Regions from separate parts of the Homo sapiens genome. Here all the other regions are linked to region 1. Evidence: promoter capture Hi-C in 16 types of primary human blood cells and fetal thymus (Javierre and others, 2016). All regions are on one chromosome and are shown on one strand. The core of a region is centred on a gene start or on the middle of the fragment in contact, and the rest is flanking DNA. Distances in the headings are between cores, read along the strand shown. Region 1 holds the start of OR2Y1 (olfactory receptor family 2 subfamily Y member 1). Region 2 overlaps BTNL9 (butyrophilin like 9). Region 3 has its middle 15 kb from the start of TRV-CAC1-2. Region 4 has its middle 18 kb from the start of BTNL9. Region 5 has its middle 2.8 kb from the start of BTNL9.

Region 1 (4,384 bases), core at 1,845-4,344:
TAGTGGCTAGTTGGGTAGGATTTGGAATAAAACAAGCCAGATTCAAATCCTGACCCACCATTTAGTGCCTGGGTAATTGAGGCAAATCACCCAAAATGATTATCTAACTTTCAGTCTCTAGATCAACAGAACTAATAGGAGGAGGGAAATAGCACCTACATTCCATATTGTAGGAATTTAGTGTGTCGGTGAAGTATATTATATAGCATGGTGTTTGAAATATGCTTGACTGTAACTATAGTAAGGGTTCAATAAATGATAACTATTTTTACAGGACACATTAGCTTTGTGCAAAAAAAAAAAAAAAAAAAAAAGCCTTCTGACCAAAGAATTTGTAACTCAGATGAGTCTAGAACCCTGGCCAGAATTAACCGAAGCAAAACTATGAAAGTACACTAAGCTCACACTTGATTCTCTCTCCAGCCACCCTTCTGTCCAAACTCAATCTTTCCCTGTTAAAAATGTCCTTCCAGAAAAAGAGAATTAGGAGGATGTTGTAGTAAGCGTTGGATTTAGGGTTTCAGAAACCTAGATCTCAGCTTCACCCCATATTTGCTATGTGAACTTGGGTGACTTAAACTCTCTGAACCTCAGTTTCTTGTGAATAAATAGGGACTATAACAAAACTCACTCTCACAATACAGCTGTAAGGACTAATAACATTGTATGCAAAAAGGTTTTTCAGATATAAACAAATATTAGTTATTGTTATTGGAATAAAAGATGATTCCCTCAACATGAAATTTACCAAGACCGTGAAAGTTGATTAATAAGGACGCCACGCTTTGATATGAAGCCAAGAATGTGGGATGCAGTGACAGTGCTGGAATATCCGGTACCCATTGTCTTCACACTTCAGCCTCTTGAGCCTCCCACCACTGCCTTCCACAGAAGTCTCTTTTTTTCATTGTCTTCACACTTCAGCCTCTTGAGCCTCCCACCACTGCCTTCCACAGAAGTCTCTTTTTTTCATTGTCTTCACACTTCAGCCTCTTGAGCCTCCCACCACTGCCTTCCACAGAAATCTCTTTTTTTCATTGTTGTCACTCCTCCTTATCCCTTCTTCTTTTCTATATCTATTCCTCTTGGCTCATTATTCATATGTTCATTTCTTCTCTATTATCTTCTCTCTTGCATGGAAAATATCTTATCCATGGCACCAAGCTGCATGACAGAGACTCCTGTTGTAGCTAGTAAGAGTCTATGCTCCCTTTACTCAATGCCACCCTAGTGATTTTGTCTTTTTCTTCAAGTGTGTAAATGACATCCAAACCTGAAACTCTGCATGCTCCTTGAAGTACCTCTGTTTATGATCTCCTTATTTGCTCCAAATATCGGACATGAATAACCTCTGTTAGAGACCTTAGAAATGGGTTCTGAGATGTGAGCGTCTACGGCAGGGTCGCAGTTACTTAGAATCGGGGGAACTCATTCTGTCTGCCTCTGGGCACAGTGCATCTGCATGGCACCACGTTGGGAGTCATTGACCTTGGGAAGGTGTTGTCATTCCCTATTAAATCTTCTATCACTCTCAGTCTTGCCTAGAACCCATCCCACTCTCCATAAGTGGACACAATACACCCTCTTCTCAAGCTGGTTCCTTTGGAAAGTTGTGATAAAAACCAGCACTTACTGATGGCTGCACAGTGATCACAGACACTGAGCAAGAAAGAGTCCCAAGAGATCCCTACTTCCAGTTTCTAAACAAGGAAGGGACTAAAACTCTGAGGACGGCCATGCGCGGTGGCTCACACCTGTAATCCCAGCACTTTGGGAGGCTGAGGCGAGTGGATCACCTGAGGTCAGGAGTTCGAGACCAGCCTGGCCAACATGGTGAAACTCTGTCTCTACTGAAAATACAAAAATTAGTAGGGCGTGGTGGTGGGTGCCTGTAATCCCAGCTACTCGGGAGACTGAGGCAGGAGAATCACTTGAACCCAGGAATCCAAGGTTGCAGTGAGCCAAGATCGTGCCACTGCACTCCAGCCTGGGCAACAAGAGTGAAACTCTGTTCCCCCCGCCACCAAAAAACAAAAACAAAAACCAATTCTGAGGATGACTGAGGGCTTTCCTACTGACCAACTGCCCTCCAAGGAACAGGGAAAGATCTGTGATTGAAGAGCTATTACAGAAAATTTTACTGCTCATTTTTTCACCTCCTACCCTGAGTCCCTGCCCCTCCATAGTACTTTCCACAGAGCCCCCTTCACGTCCTTGTTTCTTAGTGTATAAATGAGAGGATTGAGAATGGGGGTAATTATAGTATAAAAAAGGGCAACAAATTTTCCCTCACGCTCAGAATAATTGTGGATGGATTGGAGATATGTGTAGATGGCTGAGCCATAAAAAAGGAAAACTACTAGGAGGTGGGACCCACAAGTCCCAAAAGCCTTTCTGCGCCCAGCCGTTGACTTCACCCTCAGCACTGCATGAGCAATGTGCACATAGGAGCCTAGAATAAGTGCTGCAGGAACAGCCACGACTATGACTCGGGCCACAAACATCTTGGCCTCTGTTCCTTCTGTGTCCGCACAAGCCAACTTCAGAAATACAGGCATCTCACAGAAGAAGTGATTCAGTCGATGGCCACAGAGAGGCATGGCCATTGCGAGACCTGTCTGGATCAGAGAGTTCACGAAACCCGCACCCCAGGAGGCGATAGCCAGGGTCTGGCAGAGATGGGGGTGCATGATGGCCATGTAGTGGAGTGGACGACAGACAGCAGCATAGCGGTCAAAGGCCATCACCACCAGGAGCACACACTCTGTGGAGCCCAGGGCTAGGTAGATGAAGAGCTGAGCCACACACCCTCCACGGGTGATGGTGCGGTCCACCCCGCAAAGGTTGATCAGGAGCTGGGGCACGGTGCTGGTGGTGAAGCAGAGGTCCAGGAGGGACAGATGAGAGAGAAAGAAGTACATAGGTGTGTGCAGCCGAAGGTCTAGCCAGGAGAGAGCGATGATGATGGTGTTGCCAAAGAGAGTTAGGGAGTAGAAAATAAAAATAAAGACAAACAGGATGGGCTCCAGTTGCGGCCAATCTGAGAATCCCACCAAAATGAAGCCATCTTCAAAACTGGTGTTGAAACTTCCCATGGCCTTTTGCCTGTCTGAACAGCAGAAGGAAGTGCAATGCCTCCTATACTGAGCACAAGCTACAACATTATTTCGCAGGATTCCCTGAATACTAAATCATGCATTTTATTACCTATTTTGCTCTGCAGTTTGTTGTGTCTGGTGTTCTTTCCCTTCTCTTATTCAGAGTGGAAATCACTGGCTTGGGAATCATATGGCCTTTGTTTGAATCCTAGTCCTGCTGCCTGTTTGTTCCAGGACTTCACCCAGGTCAGTCAGTCCTTTAGATCCAACATTTCCTTGCCTAAAAGTAGAGATGATGTATCACAGCAATGAGATTAAGGTCAAATGCAATAATGTGGAAGCTGCTTTTAAAAGACTCAGATGTAACAGGTAGCATTACTATTCTATGTTGCTCCCATTTGCTCCTTTGCTGGTCTAGCAGGTGGCCTCTTTCAGTAGGGTTACCCCCCATGCCTAACCAGGCTGGGAGCCCTGTTTGACCTCTGGGTGCCCACCTGCTTTTTTCGACTATGGACAGCCCATACAATCCCAGAAACCCCACGCACGACCAGCAAATGACTGAGAAGAGTGTAGATCCCTCCTTTTGGAGAAGAAAAAAAAATCAATTAGCAACAAATATATTTCCTATGGTGTGTCATCATGCCTGAAATACCACACACACACGCACACACGCACATACACACTCCCTTCAATGGCTAAATCCATTCCTCAGCTGCCCAAGAAGAGTTATTTCCTCCTCTCTAGCCCAACCCTCTTTGTACAGTTTCTTTCTGCACTTGTCACACTCGCTGGAATTCTTTTTGTATGTCTTTGTCCCTCTCTGAGCTGTGAGCTCCTTAGTGGTAGCTAACATAATGAACGTAAAATAAATATTAGTGTCTTTCAGTGGGGCACGGTGGTTCACGTCTGTAATCCCAGCACTTTGGGAGGTGGAAGTGGGTGGATCACCCGAGGTCAGGAGTTTGAGACCAGCCTGGCTAACATGGAGAAACACTGTCTCTACTAAAAATACAAAACAAAACAAAAAAATAGCCAGGCTTGGTGATGGGCACCTGTAATCCCAGCTGCTCAGGAGGCTGAGGCAGGAGAATTGCTTGAACCTGGGAGTCGGAGGTTGCAGTCAGCCAAGATTGTGCCACTGCACTCAAAAAAAGAAAAAGAAAAAAAAAAGTAGTGTCTTTCTTTATGCTACACACAAAGTGCTAAATTAATATTTTCATTCAGGGCACATAGTAGATTTTGAATAAATTTCATTGAGTGAAACATGAGGTTATCCCTTCAAATCT
Region 2 (4,454 bases), core at 1,220-3,719, 320 kb after region 1:
ACCAGATCATCCAAGTGATTAAATTTAACATCATCAATGATGGGACCAAGGACATTATTAGTTTGACAACTGGGGAAAGAAGTGTTCTTCACCCCCTACCCCCAAGACATTGTCTCTGTCGGCCAGGCTGGAGTGCAGCCTCAACCTCCTGGGTCCAAGTGATCCTCCCACCTCAGCACACAACACCATGCCCAATTTTAAGTGCGTTATAGAGACGGGGGTCTCACTTTGTTACCCAGGCTGGTCTCAAACTCCTGCGCTCAAGCAATCCTCCCACCTGGGCCTCCCAAAATGCTGGGTGTACAGGCATGAGCCGCTGTGCCTGGCTTCATTTTCAGAGTGAGACATTTGTACTGTGGCTATGTAGGAGAACATTCTTGTTCTTAGCAAACATACTGAAGTTTTTAGATATTAATTACCACAGTGTCTGCCACTGAATTTCCAGTGACTAAGTGGAAAAATATAAAACATATGAATATAAAGAAAGAAAGAGACAAGTCAAATGTAGTAAAATGACAACACTTGGTGACTCTAGGTGACTGGTCGACAGATGTTCATTGTACTATCAATGTGGCTTTGCTGTGGGTTTGAAATTTTGCAAACTAAGAGTTGGGTGGCGGGGAGAAGGATACACCAAAAAACTAAGTGATTATCTTTGGATGGGAAAATGTTTGGTAATTGCATTCTTAAAATGTCTTCTTTGTATTTTTTAATGTTCAATAATGTATATGTATCAGTTCTGTAATAAAGGGGAAAACACTTTTTTTAAATACTCATATTCAAAATCATTCATTTGAAAGGAGCTATAATGAAACTGCTGGACGATCTCCTAGGCCATTGTTTCAGAGTAAGTAAATATGGCTCTCATCCCCTTCCCCTTAATCCAGGCAGAGCTTTCCTTGCCCGTCTTGTTTGAAAGGGGGAATGAGGAAGGGAGACTGGTCCGCAGCCAAGCTTTCTAACTGGTCTTTCCTCCTTCTTCCCTCTTTCCCTCTCCTTTTCTTTTCCTCTTCATGGGGACTGAGATTTCTACTAGGGCCTTTAGCACCAGGATGGGAACGGATGGGGCAGGGACACCTCTGGGATGAGCTTTCGCCCCACAGGCCCGGGAGTTCGGTTACGTACCAGAGGGAGGTGGCACAAATAAAAAAATTCACTAAGTGGCGCTGAGAGTCGGGAATTCACTAAGTGCGCTGAGAGTCGGGTTTCGCTGTCAGTGAAGGGAAATACGAAATACGGAAAGGGGAAAGGAGAGGATGAGGGTGACTCTGAGGTGGACTGGAATGAGATGTATCAATGTGAATGCGTGGGTTTTACTGCATGTAGAGAGATGGAATGCACGCACACACGTGGACAGATACACAGATATGTGTGGGTGCATGCAGATCGTTCCCAGCTCTGTCTTGTTTGAAGGCTTAGCAACAATAACACCCCAGTACCAACGGGCACACCGAGACCCAGAACTTAGTTTTTAGTACGATTTTCAGTAAAAGGAATAAAGTCTCCTTGGAGAAATGGTTGAGTCCAAGGCTGGGGCAGGGAAAATACAAGGAGAGCCTACAATATCCTACACCAGAAAATAAGGAAGTAGGTTGCACAGAAGAGCCATGTCGAATGGATTTAGACGTCAGAATGGATTTTGAACCCCTGAATCAAATAGGAATCCATATGTATATTTCCCCACTGATATACATACATACATACATACATACATAAACAAATTCATGGAGAGAAGAGAAAGCTCTGCCCTACAATAGGAGTCTGAAAATATTACTTCTTAACTCATAAGTACAAAACACGTACCAATTAACTTTACAGTGGAGGAGGCTGGCAGGCGCCACCTTAGCCAAATGACAAAAGTTAACATCACCAGATGCGAAAACAGTTTACATCACATTCTTCCTGATACAATGCAGAATACAAACGGCATCACTTTTGAGGTATTCCTGCACCCAAAAATGCATAAATCAGGAGGAAACATCACAGAAACTGACTGGTACTCTTCAACAATGTCAAGGTCATGAAAGACGGGACAACACTAAGGAACTGCTTCAGACTAAAGGAAACAGGACAACTAAGTGCAACAGGTGACCCTGGATGGGATCCTGGATCTATAAAAAACATCACTGGGCCAGACAAATTGGCTCAGGCCTGTAATCCCAGCACTTTCGGAGGCTAAGGTGGAATGATTGCTCGAGTCCGGCGGGGGGAGATTATTGGGGGAAAAAAGGGCATTTTGAAAGAGGTGTGTGGATTAGATAATAATATTGGATAAATGTTAATTTCCTCATTTTGATGTAGAAGAATGCTTTTAAGAAAATGCACACTTACATATTAAGGGGTAAAGGATTATGATGTTTATACCTTATTTTCAAATGGTTCATTAAGACATATAGTAATATAAACAAAAGAGAGAGAGAATGATAAAGAAATGCAGTGGTGTCTGATAAATGTTTAATAACTGGCTTTCTAGGCTGGGCGCGGTGGCTCATGCCTGCAATCCCAGCACTTTGGGAGGCCGAGGCGGTGGATCACAAGGTCAGGAGATCAAGACCATCCTGGCTAACACGGTGAAACCCCGTCTCTACTAAAAATATAAAAAATCAGCTGGGCGCGGTGGCGGGTGCCTGTAGTCTCAGCTACTCGGGAGGCTGAGGCAGGAGAATGGCGTGAACCCGGGAGGCGGAGCTTGCAGTGAGCCGAGATTGCACCACTGCACTCCAGCCTGGGCGACAGAGTGAGACTCTGTCTCAAAAAAAAAAAAAAAAAAAAAAAAAACTGGCTTTCTGAAAAAAAAAATATTGAGCCAATTTCCCTGGTGCAAGTCCTCCCACTATGGTTGATTTCAAGCTAAAGATGTGACACCACTGAGGGCAGACTGGGAAGTGCCTTAGTCAGCTCTCGCTGCTGTAACAAGATGCCACACACGGGGGAAGTGCCTTAGTCAGCTCTCGCTGCTGTAACAAGATGCCACACATGGAGGAAGTGCCTTAGTCAGCTCTCGCTGCTGTAACAAAATACCACACACGGAAGAAGTGCCTTAGTCAGCTCTCGCTGCTGTAACAAAATACCATACACGGAGTGGCTTGTAAACAACAGAAATTTATTTCTCACAGTTTTGGAGGCTGCAAGTCCAGGATCAGGGTCCCAGCACGGTCAGGGTTGGCGAGGGTTCTCTTCTGGGTTGCAAACTGCTGCTTTGCTTTGTATCCTCACATGGCAGACAGCAAGAGAGTTCTCCAGGGTCCGTTTATATTTTTGTCTTTTAAATTGAGACAGGGTCTTGCTATGTTGCCCAGGCTGGTCTGGAACTCCTGGCCTCAAGTGACCCACCTACCTCAGCCTCCCAAACTGCTGAGATTACAGGCATAAGTTACCTCATCCAGCCCCTACCAGGGTCTGTTTCTGTTTTTTTTGTTTGTTTTTTGTTTTTGAGACAGTCTCACTCTGTCGCCAGGCTGGAGTGCAGTGGCGCGATCTCAGCTCACAGCAACCTCCACCTCCTGGGTTCAAGTGATTCTCCTGCCTCAGCCTCCAGAGTAGCTGGGACTGCGGGCATGCACCACCACACCCAGCTAATTTTTGTATTTTTAGTAGAGACAGGGTTTCACCATGTTGGCCAGGGTGGTCTCGATCTCTTGACCTCATGATCTGTCCTCCTCGGCCTCCCAAAGGACTGGCATTAAAGGCGTGAGCCACCCAGCCTCTAACAGGTCTGTTTTTACAAGTGCATTAATCCCATCATAAGGACTCCACCCTCATGACCTAAGCACCTCCCAAAAGTCCCACCTCCTACTACATTGCATTGGGTGTTACGATTTCAACATGTGAGTGGGGCATGGTGGAGAGGGACACATTCAGACCATAGCAGGAAGAGACACCCATGATCAGCTCTCATGAGATGCCAGCTCCAGAGACCATTGTTTGTGCAATTCTAGAGGGAGATTGTAATTTGTTTCTCCATCAAGTCAGATAAGTGCATTTTAAGCTTATGAAAATATTCTTGGTCACCTGTTGGGAGAAAGCTATTCCCCTTAATTAACACATGATATTCAGAAAATGGAAGTTTTTTTTTCTAGAGTCATTTGCATTAGTGTGAGAATATTTAGGGTTCTTACTCATGAATGTTTTTGTGATAACATTAAAAATATGTTCCCTCTCCATCTGTAGCTATTATTCCTTTAAGACTGTATTTATGTGATAAATAAGAAAAGCAAACATACAGCTAATATAAAAAACAATGCTAAACTGTGTTTAAATAATCAGTGGACACCATCAGCCCACTTTAAATGATGGGCAGGCTGTTTTCCAGTGCAGGAGGGCTGTAGGCAGCCAGGGGCCCCAGCTGGAGTGGCATTAAGTTCAAACCCCTCTCTCACAAGGGCTGACAGCGGCACACAACCATGTGGCTCAACCAGCCAGCCAAAGATCCCGTCACCCCGACCCCCGTTCCT
Region 3 (4,288 bases), core at 923-3,422, 340 kb after region 1:
AAGATACAATCTACCGAAATTCACACTAAGAAAAGAGACAATATGAAAAGACTCATATGTATTAAATCAAATCAAGGCCGGGCAAGATGGTTCACACCTATAATCTCAGCACTTTGGGAGGCTGAGGCAGCCAGATCACTTAAGTTCAGGAGTTCCAGACCAGCCTGGCCAACATGGCGAAACCCTGTCTCTACTAAAAAATACAAAAAATTAGCCACGCATGGTGGCATATCCCTGTAGTCCCAGCTACTCGGGGCTGAGGCAGGAGGAAGTCTTGAGCCCGGGAGGCCGAGGCTGCAGTGAGTCCTGATCGTGCCACTGCATTCCAGCCTGGACGACAGAGTGAGACCCTCTCTCGAAAAAAACAAACAAACAAAAAACTATGTAATTCATGCCATCACCAGGCTAAGCAAGAAAAATCATATGATCACATAAATAGATGCAGAAAAGCATTTGACAAAATTCAACACCTAGTTATGATACAAACTCTCAGTAAACTAGGATAGAGGGGAATTCCTCAAATTGATAAAGAACATCTATAGGCAGAGCATGCTGGTTCATGCCTAAAATCCCAGCACTTTGGGAGGCCAAGGCAGAAGGATTGCTTGAGGCCAGGAGTTTGAGATCAGCCTGGGCAACATAGAGAGATTCCATCTCTAAAAAGAAAGACACACACACACACACACACACACACACACACAGAAACATCCACAGAAAAAAAACTAGCTAACATCATACTTAATGGTTAGTGAGAAACTAGGTGTTCTCTCCTTAAGATCAGGAGCAAGGATGTCCCCTACTATCATTCTTATTCAACATTGTACTGAAGTCCTAACTAATGCAAGAAGATTTTAAAAAGGAAATTAAAGCTATACAGATCAGGGGGAAAAAAGAAACTGTCTTTCTTCACAGATGACATGATTGTCTATGTAGAAAATACCAAAGTATTGACCAAAAACTCCTGAACTAGCAGATGATTATAGCAAGATTTTTTCTTTTCTTTTCTTTCTTTTTTTTTTTTTTTTTTGAGATGGAGTCTCACTCTATTGCCCAGGCTGGAGTGCAGTGGCTTGATCTTGGCTCACTGCAACCTCTGCCTCCTGGGTTCAAGCGATTCTCCTGCCTCAGCCTCCAGAGTAGCTGGGATTACAGGCACGATCCACCACGCCCAGCTAATTTTTGTCATTTTAGCAGGGACCAGGTTTTACCATGTTGGCAAGGCTGGTCGTGAATTCCTGACTTCAGGTGATCTGCCTGCCTCGGCCTCCCAAAGTGCTGGGATTACAGGCATCAGCCACTGCACCAGCCAGATTACAGCAAGATTACTATGTAGTGAATTATCATAATTTTATGTTGCCTCAGCACCCATTTTTCAGGGAAGTTTAACTTTCCTATGCCGGAAGGAGAGCTCAGTCACCCTTGACACAGTTTTCAGGTTCTACATCTCCTCCCAGTTCCTCAAGGTGGTCAGTCCAGATATCTGCTGTGCACAGCTGCCTCCCGGTGCCCACCTCCGCATGGCACAGCTACATACAGCCCACTCGACTAGCCCTGCATACTCTATGTAGTGGGATGGATGGCTGCACGTGAGATTTCAAGTCATAGTGGGTACCTTCGGACTGCTTGTTTAATTATGCTCATCAGATGCCTGACTCAGGTTTCTCCAGTAGCCTTTAGTGTCTCTGCTACTCAAATGGCACCCATGATAAGGCACAAGGTCTAATGCCTAGACATTACAGGGTCAATTTCAATGGTATTGACACAGCAGAGGTTTCTGCCTACGTATTAGAAGAACACCACACCCTAATGGCCCAAGCCAGTGGCCAAGGATAAAAACCTTGGAGGAACCTCTTCTGCCTAGTTGACTGGGCTCCCCACTTTCCCACCGCTTCCTTTAAATGGACCATTCAGGTATTTGCCCTTGAACTTAAAGCCACCCACAGTGTATTCTCCAACATACACTTCTAATTTCTGCATTCTTTCTCCCTGCCTGTACTCCCTAAACTAACCTCTCTGTGTGGGGGGCCTCCAAGCATGTCATATACTACCAGAACCTATAAGTAATAAAATCTTTATTTCTATTTTGTGTCTCTCCTAATCATTGAAGGGTTGCTCTCCATTTTAAAGATCATAAGTTTTAAAATACAGGACACAAAGTTAATAAACAAAAGTCAATTGCTTTACTATATGCCAGCAATAAACAATTGGGATTTAAAAATTAAAAATACAATAACACTAACATTAGCACTTAAAAAGTACTTAATAATAAATCAAAAAAATGGGTACAAGGTCCATATAAGGAAATCTAATGAAATCAAAAAAAGTTCTAAGTAAATGGAAAGATATTCCATGTTCATGGATAGGAAAGCTCAATCTTTTAAAGATGCCAATCCTTCCTAATTTCATCTACAGATTCAATGTAATCCAATCAAAATCCCAGCAGGTTATTTTATAAATACTGACAAACTGATTCTAAACATTATATGAAAAGGCAAAAGACCCAGGAGAGCCAACACAGTATTGAAGAAGAAATAAGTTGGAAGACTAATACTACCTAAAGGCTTACTATAAAGCTACAATAATCAAGAAAGTATAGTGTTGGCAAAGGAATAGACAGCTAGATCAATGAAGAAGAATAGAGAACAAACAGATCCACACAAATATACTTAACTGATATTTTGACAGGAATTAAAAGCAATTCAACAGATAATGTATGGTCTTTTCAAGAAATGATGCTGGAATATTTAGGCATGCATGTGCCAAAAAAAAAAAAAAAGGAAAAAAACATGAATCCAGACACTGATCTTACACCTCTCACAGAAATGAACTCAAAATGGATTATAGACCTAAATTTAACATGCAAAACTACAAAACTTTTACAAGAGAACCCGGGGAAAATCTGGGGAAGTTTTTCAAAGCATGATCCATGATCTATGAAGAAAAACGGGTATGTTGGACTTCACTGAACTTAAAAACTTCTGCTCTGCAAAGACATTGTTAGGGAAATGGAATGACAAGGCACAGACCGGGAGAGAATATTTGCTGAATACATATCTAACGAGGCACTTGTATTAACCAGCAATACCAGCACTTAGGGAGGCTGAGTTGGAAGGTTCACTTGAGCCCAGGAGTTCCAGATCAGCCTGAGAAACATAGGGAGAAAATTTTTTTTTTTAAATGTGCTGTGTGTGGTGACACTTGCCTATAGTCCTAGCTACTCAGGAGGCTGAGGCAGGAGGAACACTTGAGCCCGGGAGTTGCAAGCTGCAGCAAGCCATGATCATGCCACTGTACTTTAAGCTGGGTGAAAGAGCAAGATTCTGTCTCATAAAATAAAACAAAACAAAACAAAAAAAACTGAACAATAAGAAAACAATTCAATTAAAAAATATGCAGGCTGGTGTGGTGGCTCACACCTGTAATCCCAGCACTTTGGGAGGCTGAGGCGGGAGGATTGCTTGAAGCCAGGAGTTTGAGACTGGCCTGCACAACACAGCGAGACCCCAGGTCTACAAAAAAATAAAAAATTAGCTGGGCATGGTGGCATATGCTTGTGGTCCCAGATACTCAGGAGGCTGAGTAGGGAGGATCGCTTGAGCCCAGGAATTGGAGGCTACAGTGAGCTATGATTACACCACTGCTCTCCAGCCTAGGCAACAGAGCAAGACTCTGTCTCAAAGAATAAAAATAATGATCAAAAGATCTGAAGAGACGTCTCACCAAAGAAAATGTACAGATGGCAAATGAACATATGAAAAGATGCTTGATATCATTCATTATTAGAGAATTGCAAATTAAAACAATGAGATTTCACTACATGTAAAAATGGCTAAAATCTAAAACAATGACAAACACCAAATGCTGACATGCACGGGGCAAGCGATAGTCACCTGAAGACAGTCTGACAGCTTTTTACACAGCTAAACATAACCTTGCCATATGAGCCAGCAATTATGCTCCTAGGTAGTTACTCAAATGAGTTGAAACATTTGCCCATATAAGCATCTGAACATGAATGTTTATAGTAGCTTTATTCATAATTGCCAAAAACTGGAGGTAACCAAGATACACTTCAAAAGGTGAATCAACACATTGTGCTCTGTCCTCATAATGGAATATTATTCAGCAATAAAATTAATGATCTCTCAAGCTATGAAAAGACACGGAGGAACCATAAATGCATGTTACTAAGGGAAAGAAGCCAGTCTAAAAACTGCATACTGTATAGTTTCAATTACACGAAATACTGGAAAACGCAAAATTATAGAAATAGTAAAAAGATCCGCGG
Region 4 (4,434 bases), core at 1,163-3,662, 280 kb after region 1:
ATTTTGGTCTTGTTCCATAGCTATGTCTGATATTACCATTGGAGAAAGCTTACTTGGAGGTACTCAAGACTCTGTATTATTTTTGCAACTTCCAGTGAGTCTAAAATTGTTTTAAAATAAAAACTATCATTTAAAAAGCAACTTTAAGTGTACAATTATCTCCAAATGAAAAGCTTAATGAAAAACATGATTCATCGGTGTTTCAGTTCATTATAATGGCAGTGGAAACCAGGAAATGTGAAACAGTTTCAGAGATTCAACTAGTGTTAGCACACATCAAATAGTAATGAAACAAGGCTTTTAAAAAATCCCTAACTTCCAATATTAGAGCAATTATCTTTAATCATAACTGAAGGATGTCATTCACTGTGCCACCCAAAGTAAATAAGGACGAAAATTATGAATAAGAAACAGTAAAAAGTTAATATTACATAATATGGTAGTCAAAATAGAACCAATGAGTGCCAATATAATGAACCTCTCCCCTCAAAAATCCCAACCTCCATGTTGCTTTTCATAACAAAGGTGAATAAAACAAATCAAAGCAGCTATATACAGGAACACAGGTCCTGGTGGCTGTTACTGAGACCCAGGATAGTGTCAGGGTCAAATCTCTGTAGAAATTAGCTATTGGAGGCTCTAAGGACCCTGCCTCCTGGGGCCTTCCTCTGAGTTTTCCCCTTAGGGTAGTGGGTAGGGAGCTGTGTTGTAGGTCCCAAATCAGGAGTTAGGCTAGAGAGCGATATCAGCAAGATGGCAGAATAGGAAGTCCCATGCTTCACTTCTCCCCCAACATAAAGTTCAACTAGAAACCATCCACAGACAAGAACACCTCTGTGAAAACTCCAAAACTTGGGAATGAGCCTGAGACAACTATGTGGACCACAGAGCCAAATAAAAACCATATTAGAAGGGTAAGAGGTATGGTCTCGCTTTGACCACGTTGCTCCTCCCCCTCCCCCAACTCCACACAGCACCACACAGAGAAGATTCACTTTGATGCGTAATTTCTACAGTGAGAAGAGGGCCAGAGGCAGACATCCAGCTTCCCTAGCATTCTAAAATGCTTCCCAGGAGGCCTACCACTCTGGCCCTTTCTCACGGGGAACACTGAAAGTATGGGCAAGACTAGACTGTCGTGGGTCAGGTGGAAACAAAGAAGTGAAGCAGAGGTCACAGTGATGGTAACATGGATTGTTCGGGTAGCTCTGTGTTCCTGCCAGTGATGGTGCCCAGTCAGAAGTGCCAGCCAATGGCAGAATCCACCCACAAACCTCAGCTAGTTTCTCCCAGAAGTTGTTCAAACTGGCTTGAGTACCTAGATGGCCAGCCTCCGTGACCAGCCTCAGCCCATGCCAAGGCCTTACTCAGGCATGAAAATTTCCACCACAGTGTGTTTAGGCAAAGCACAAGGGCCACATGTACTTGACATGAGAGGCCAAACAGACACTTGACCCAGCTACAAAGCCCACCCAAGGCTCTGCCCAAGCAGGGAGATACCTGCCACCACACATTTTTACAGAGCACAGGGGCTGGACCTGCCCAACACAGGAGACCACAGAGCAGTTTGAACCAACCCCAGAGCTCACCCCAAAGCTGGAGAGCAAGCCCATATCATGCATGTTTACTGAGCACAGCCTCTAGTCTAGTTCATCCTGAGCAGCATTCTGCCTTGCCTTTGGGTCCATCCTGCAGTCCTGTCCAACTGCAGAACTCAAATAGCAAAACTGCTTGGCCAGGGAATATATGCTGTGACCTGGCCTCATTAGTGGTAACTGCAGTGCCCAGTCAGCAGTTCCACGTGATCGCAGAGCCTAGCCAGTGGTCTCGCTGGACAGTAGAGCCCAGCCAGGAGCCCCACTTGACCTCAGATAAAAGGCATCAGCCCACCCAACTAGAGAACTCAACAGCAAGCTCTACCTGCCTGTGGTCACTACCAGCTGGCCCATCCAGAATCACAGGCTAAACTAAACAGTGAAGGTTAATTCCTGTGAATGAATACCTGTAAAGGCTGGAAGAGGTGGCAGTCTCCTCAAATGTACAGATGCCAACACGGGGACATAAGGATTAGAAAGAGGGAAGCATGAACTATAAAGGAATGTAGATTTATGTAATGACTGGCAAAAAAAATCAGGACAATTCTCTTAAAGAATTTCAATGAACTATAAGAATATACAGATAAAAAATTAAATAAAATTTGGAAAAAATAGATCAATAAACCAAGAAATAGAAACAATTTTTAGAAACCAAATATAAATCCTAGAGATTAAGAATACAATGACTGAACCAAAAAAAGTCAACAGAAAACTTCAACAGCAGACTCAATCAGGGCAAATAAAGAACTGATGAGCTCAAAGACAGAAATTTTAAAAATTATCCAGTCAGAAGAGCAAAAAGAAAAAGAATAAAAATGAAGAAAGACTACATGAGTTATAGAATACCATCAAGAAAACTAATTTTTGCATAATAGGAGTTGCAGAAGAAGAGAAATAAAAAAGATGAGAAAAAATGTTACGAGAAATAATGGCTAAAAACATCCCAAATCTGGGAAGAGATACCAACATTCAGGTACAGGAAGCTCAGGGGTCCCCAATTAAATTTAAACTGAAGAAGAGTTCACCAAGACACATAATAGTCAAACTACCAAAAAGCAAAGGAAAATTCAAAGCAAAGAGATTAGAAACATACCACATACAAGGAAATATCAATACAGCCATCAGCAGATCTCTCAGCAGAAATACTGCTGAGGAGAGAGTGGGATGATACATTCAAAATGAAGAAAAAATAACCAAGAATACTTTACCCAGCAAAGTTGTCCTTTAGAAATGAGGGAGTGGCCTTTCGTTTCAGTGTAAAGCACTCTCTTTCCTGTAAGTCAGGCATAGTAGTGATAAATTCTCTTAGCTTTTGTTTGTCTGGGAAATATTTTATTTCTCCCTCATTTCTAAAGGACAACTTTGCTGGGTAAACTAGTCTTGGTTATTTTTCTTCACTTTGAGTGTATCATCACACTCTCTCCTAAGGCACAGTAGTGATGAATTCTCTTAGCTTTTGTTTGTCTGGGAAAGATTTTATTTCTCTCTCATTTCTAAAGGACAACTTTTCTGGGTAAAGTATTCTTGGTTATTTTTTCTTCACTTTGAATGTATCATCCCACTCTCTCCTCAGTAGTGTTTGTGCTGAGAGATCTTTCCCAGACAAACAAAAGCTAAGAGAATTCATCACTACTATGCCTGACTTACAGGAAAGAGAGTGCTTTACACTGAAATGAAAGGCCACTGATGAATACCATAAAACACATGAAAGCACAAAACAATGGTACTGGTAACCGAGTCATATTCAGAAAACTCTAGGACTAGAAAGGTGGTGTTAAAGCAATTTTATCTCTAGTATGACGGTTAAGAGACAAAACTATTAAAAAATAAATTGTTAAGGAATACAAATTACAAGATTACATAAATTCTGATATCAAAAGATAAAATGTGTGTGTGTAGGGGACAAAAATGTACAACTGTTAGATATTTTAGTTAAACCTCATGATAACCACAAAGCAAAAACACATAGTAGATGCACAAAACAAAACATAAATAGGATTCAGAGTATACCACTACAAAAGAACTATAAAACTACAAAGGGAGACTAAAAAAGAAAGAAAGAAAAAAAGGATCTACAAAACAAAAATTACAAAACGGTAATAGTAAATACTTAACAGTATTTACTTTGAATGAAAATGAATTAAATTCTCCATTCAAAAAAAGTAATGGCTGAATGAATTTTTTTAAAAAGGCCCAACTATATACTGTGCTATAGTTTAAATGTCCCTGCCAAAATTCATGTTGAAACTTAATTGCCATTGTAACAGTGTTAAGTGATGGGACTTTTAAGGGGTGATTAAGTCATAAGGACTCTCTGGTCTCATGAATAGATTAATGCAGCTATTTTTAAAAATTTATAATTGCCTTGTCTTATGGTTCTGAGATTAATGCTATTATCACAGGAGTGGATCAGTAATCACAGCAGTGAGTTCCTGATAAAAAGGATGAGTTCAAAAGATGGTTTGCTAGAGGACCCTAATGCCTGTACTCCCCACACCAAAAAAAAAAAAAAAAAACAGGACCCAAATGATGAATAAATAACTACACTTGCACTGTAGTGTATAAGGGAGAATGCTGGCGTACAGCAGGAAAAGACAGGAAACATGATGTAACTAGACCGTTTGGAAGGGCTGCATAGAAGCAAAATGAGGACACTCAGCCTCTGCTACACTGTCTTCCCAGCCAGGATTAACTCAAAAAAAAAGGCACTTCCCCCAGCAGGAAAAAGGTAACCAGGAGGCCCCCAGGAATCCCCACTGATATCACAGATACCTGCAATCTTTGCTGCTAGAGAATCCTGCAGCGCCCACAGGCCCTGAGCCCCGTTGGGGGAGCTGCC
Region 5 (4,531 bases), core at 2,024-4,523, 300 kb after region 1:
CTGGGCAACATAATGAGAACCTCATCTCTATAAAGAAAAAATTAAAAAATTAGCTGGTCACCTGTGGTCCCAGTGACATGGGAGGCTGAGGTGGGAGGATCACTTGAGCCTGGGAGGTTGAGGCTGCAGTGAGCTGTGACTGTGCCACTGTACTCCAGCCTGGGTGACAGAGCAAGGCCCTGTCTCAAAAAAGAAAAAAATTATTTGCAACTCTACTGGGCAAAAGTCTACAAGTTAATTATGCAAATTCACTAAATCTGGGGTTTTTAAGTAATGGCAAACAGTAATCAAAGTACACTTCCATAAGTAATCTGTGGCTGGGCCAGTGCCCACATGACACTGAAAGGACATGTTACCTACCTTTTTGCCTTATTTGGAAATTTAACATAATTTTTTTCTTCAAAAGTTCTCCTCCTGTTAAAGCAAACAGTATTATTTGTTCCCTAAAGGTGCCTGGAGAGAGTGTGGATGAAACAGGAGAACCCACCGTCTGCCGGGGACAGCAGGTTTGAATAACCAAGAGCACCCTCTTTAAGAAACGACCTGGTTATTTGTTTTTAATTTGTAATGGAGACAAGGTTTCACTGTGTTGCCCAGGCTGGTCTAGAACTTCTGGGCTCTCGAACTCCTGGACACAAACAAGACCCTTGTTTCAGCTTCTCAAAGTGCTGTGATTACAGGCGTGAGCCACCACGCTCAGCTCCCCCTAGTTTATTATTATTATTATTACCACCTGTTTATGCAACTCAAACCCTGTCAAACTGCGTTTTGGCTGGCTCTCTGAAAAGGTGTAATATAAGGGCACCAACCCACTTCCCTCCTACAAATGGTCGGGACTCAGATGAGCACTGTTTTCACAGGGTCTCCTCCATAACCAATGGTCGGGACTCAGATGAGCGCTGTTCTCACGGGGTCTCCTCCATAACCAATGCTCACTCTACCTGGCGTAAGCCCGCAGCTGGAGCTCCTTATTCTACCCACTTCTGTGTGTCAGGAGAAGGTGCTGGCTACTTCTTGCAGTGAAGGAATTCCTCCGAGCTAGGGATGCTCCGTGCTGATCCCTTTGGGCAGCACCACTCAAGTCACCCTCGAAAATGGCTTGCCTTGGCGAGGTCAGGCTGTTTGGGAGTAGAGGGTGTGTGTGGCTCCTGCAGCCCCCACAATCTCAGGAGCCAAAGATGAGCACCTGTGGCTGTGAGGGCAGCAGTGGGCCTCTCCTATCTCCCAGTGCCTGTGCACGTCTCTATCTGTGTGACAAAGCACAATGGGGGGCACTGTGCCAGCTGACAGGCACAAGAATGTCAGTGTGAGCTCCCTGGAGAACGGAACAGGAGAAAATGAAAATGCAGTAAGGAAGCTCAAGGGCCATGTTGTGGGCTGCCGGGGAAGGTGGATGGGGGATCGTCAGAAAAGGAGGAATTCACTACTTGCGAGGCTGGCATGACTTTGCTTCTATCTCCACTGGTAGCCCACGCTGGGCGTGAGAATAGCCTTTGCCCTGGGGATGAGGATTCTCCCATTAGCCCCTCCAGAATTCCCTCAGACGACCTCATGGTGAGGGCTGCTGTGCACCACGGAAGCTATATAATGGGGCATGTTCTCCGCTGTCCAAGTGATGGCTCCATGCTGGCCTGGCTAGCCCCTAGCCTTTCCTACCCCACACGTGCCAATCACCTCCCTCCACGTGATGGCCGCTGCCATCACAGGGGCTGCAGCAGGGAGGCCTGGCTGGGGCTGCATACTTCACGGAGCCAGTAAGAGCTCTGCCCCTTCTGAGATGGGGCGGGAGCTCCCCGGGTACCGCTGCAGTCACCCAAACTGTGACTGCAGACCCAGGCCTCCTGCTGTACAGATCAGGCAGGATCCCAACCCTCCTGTGTGGGTCTACAGCCACCCAAACTGCAGCTGTGGATCCAAGCCTCCCTGAGCTCCTGGGTGGGAGCCAGGGGCAGGCAGGATCTGCCCTTCTGCGTGCAGCTGCAGCCACCCAACCCACAGCTGCAGACCTCAGCCTCCTGCTCCACGGAGGAGGCAGGAGCCAGGACAAGCAGGAGCCCTGCCCCTTCCGAATTGATGGGGCAGGAGCTCCCCGGGTGCAGCTTCGGCCACCCTCCCAGGAGCAGGACCCCGGCATCTGTGCATTCTGCACCTCCAGGGCCTGGGAAGAACCACCCTGTACCCAGCCCCCCAACCCCCATCCCTGCAGGCTCAGGGCTGTCTGCTTCCCACTGCCTGGCCTCTCTCTGCTCCCACTCTCAGAGCGGGGTTGGGGCCTAGCCAGGGACCATAAATGGCAGTGGGAGGCAGACAGAGTCCCTGGAGGGAGAAGGCGGGTCCCCAGTAAGGCCCCGCCTTCAGGCCAGGGAGGGCCTGAAGGCCTGGCTGCCAGTCCCTCTGACTGGAGTGGGGACTTGTGGTGTCTCCCTCTGGCTGCCCATGGACCAATCAGCATGCACTTCCTCCCCTCTGAGGTGCATAAAAGCCTGAGGCTCAGCCAGAGCAGGGCAGAGGATGGAGAAACGATGGGATGGCCAGCTGCAGAGAGGAGCTACCCTCTCTGCTGAGAGCTTCAGAGACCTGCAGAGGTGTTCAGAACAACTTGCCTGTGGAGAGGAGCCACTCTCTCCAGGGACTTCTGTCTGCTGAGAGCAGCAGGTGGCAGGAGGACCAGTGGGCAGAGAGGAGCTACCCTCTCAAGGGCCTTCTCTGCTGAGAGCTGAACACTCAGTGGGAGGGGAGGACTTACCTACAGAGAGGAGCTCACTGCAGATCACCTCTGAGCTGTTCTAGCATTCAATAAAGCTTCTCTGCATCTTCTTCACCCTTCACTTGTCTGTGTACCTCATGACCTCATTCTTCCTGGAGGCAGGACAAGAACTCAGGTGCCACAGAGGTTTCTGGGAAGAAAATTGACACCCAAAAATCCCACACAAGGACAGATGAGGGTCCATTCTCTCCAGTGGCACCTATAGTCCGCCAGGGGTTCAGCACCTACCTTCATTTTGGATCTGAGCCTTTATGCATTTACTGGGTCTTGGAATGGGAGGTTCGGCTGGCAGGGACAGCCGCTGTCTACATCTTTCCTACTGCATGATGCGCCTGATATGCAGGCGGTGGTGGCAGGTGGGGTCCCCCTCCCACATCCCACCAGGGCTGTGTCTAGGAGCCACAGAAGTGGACTCTGCCCATTTCTCTCTCTCTTTGCATTTCTGCTGTGACAATCTCACCTCTCCCCAGGCAGCATGGAGGAATCCAACCTAAGGGCAATGAAAAGTTTAGGCCATGTTCTCGTTTTCGAGCAGCCCCTCTCTACAAGTGCAATTTTCCTTCTCTTTCACTTCCCTATGTGGCATGCAAGGGCCTCTGCAATGTGGTCCCATCCACTTCTGTTCAACCTTCCCTTCCACTAGTGAGCCACACACTGGTCTGGCTAACCCCTAGCCTTTTCCTACCTCCCACATGCTAATCACCTCCCTCCACGAAGAATGTCTGTCCTCGCAGGCTCTGTCCTCCCGGGCTGCCCATGGCTTCCCTGATCCTACTGTTTATGCAGCATCCATCTTAAGTATACCCTGTCCTTGAGCCCTCCTCTGTCTCCCCAGGCCCGGGGAACTGCACCCACTGTTTGAGCTCACTGTTCAGCCCCTTTTGCTGTCCTAGGGACATCTGTTCACATTAATAAGCCTGGGTGCCCAGTCTCACCAGCCTGTCTGAGCACAGACAGTCACCTCCAGGTCCATGCCTGAAGCTTGCTGGCTCCCGTCTCCCACCCATGTAGCGCCCTGTCACCTGCAGAGGCCCCTCTACAAACACAGGCACTTCTGGGAGTCCCTGGGGTGTGCTACTGAGGCAGAAAATTTAAAAATACATATGCCTTCATTCACTCCAAGAAAAGTAACAGGCAAGGCAAGGGTTAAAAAGTAAAGGACAAGTTTTCCTCTGCCTATAGCAAGCCCACTGCAAGGACAGTTATAACAGTGTCCAGAAAGCCAAGGCCAAAGGAATGGGCTCCAGATACCCGCCGCCCCACTTCCAGAGCAAGGTTGAAGGAAAAAGAGAGAAAGACAAATTCTTTTACTGTTACTGTTTTCCCAGGCTTCTTAAGCATGATTGTGTTTTACAAATGTCTGTACTTAGCCAGTTCTTGTTTTTCTTTCAATGCAGCTACAAAGTCACCCGCTGTGCAAGGCCACAAGTTATGCTATGCTATAGATTATGTGACCTATCATGATTAGCTGCTTTTGTTTTATTTATTGTAAGTCCACTTACAAAAACCCCGCTCTGTCTTTGTTTAATGCTCAGCTTTTTGGATGTGAGTCCACTGAGCCGGTGTGTACCTAAAATAAACAATCCTCCTGTTCTTCACATCGGTCTCTCCGGTCCTCAGTTTCCCACAACACTGCATGTGCTTGAGCTGCTCGTGCCTCAGCTCTGGCCTGTTCCCTGGAGGGGACGTCAGTGTGGGCTGCAGCTGGGTGGCTGGTGCCTCAGTCCGCTAATGCCCAAGTTGCACCATGGCCTACAGTAAGAT

What was found. Contacts are between HindIII fragments. The CHiCAGO score rates a contact against its expected background, and 5 or more counts as called.
Region 2: a fragment that was not itself captured here is called in contact with the fragment with the promoter of OR2Y1 in region 1 in 1 of 17 cell types (neutrophils); the score reaches 7.5 in neutrophils.
Region 3: a contact is called between a fragment that was not itself captured here and the fragment with the promoter of OR2Y1 in region 1, in 1 of 17 cell types (monocytes). The highest score is 6.8, in monocytes.
Region 4: a contact is called between a fragment that was not itself captured here and the fragment with the promoter of OR2Y1 in region 1, in 1 of 17 cell types (M1 macrophages). The highest score is 5.3, in M1 macrophages.
Region 5: a fragment that was not itself captured here is called in contact with the fragment with the promoter of OR2Y1 in region 1 in 1 of 17 cell types (monocytes); the score reaches 6.5 in monocytes.

The regions. Positions count from the first base shown.
Region 1 is chr5:180,736,964-180,741,347 of GRCh38, forward strand. OR2Y1 (olfactory receptor family 2 subfamily Y member 1) reads right to left here and starts at 3,095. Exons shown (of 1, transcript NM_001001657.1): 1 at 2,160-3,095. The coding sequence starts at 3,095. The coding sequence ends at 2,160. The HindIII fragment of the contact is 9,223 bases long and covers 1-4,384 here.
Region 2 is chr5:181,060,752-181,065,205 of GRCh38, forward strand. BTNL9 (butyrophilin like 9) reads left to right here. Exons shown (of 11, transcript NM_152547.5): 11 at 1-770. It also overlaps the pseudogene RPL13P10. Among named protein-coding and RNA genes, the nearest start is that of MIR8089, 19 kb to the left of the region's middle. The HindIII fragment of the contact is 3,034 bases long and covers 953-3,986 here.
Region 3 is chr5:181,079,842-181,084,129 of GRCh38, forward strand. No RefSeq gene overlaps it. Among named protein-coding and RNA genes, the nearest start is that of TRV-CAC1-2, 15 kb to the right of the region's middle. The HindIII fragment of the contact is 5,034 bases long and covers 1-4,288 here.
Region 4 is chr5:181,019,573-181,024,006 of GRCh38, forward strand. No RefSeq gene overlaps it. Among named protein-coding and RNA genes, the nearest start is that of BTNL9, 18 kb to the right of the region's middle. The HindIII fragment of the contact is 4,483 bases long and covers 172-4,434 here.
Region 5 is chr5:181,035,186-181,039,716 of GRCh38, forward strand. No RefSeq gene overlaps it. Among named protein-coding and RNA genes, the nearest start is that of BTNL9, 2.8 kb to the right of the region's middle. RefSeq lists a silencer at 975-1,353 and an enhancer at 1,598-2,524. The HindIII fragment of the contact is 946 bases long and covers 2,801-3,746 here.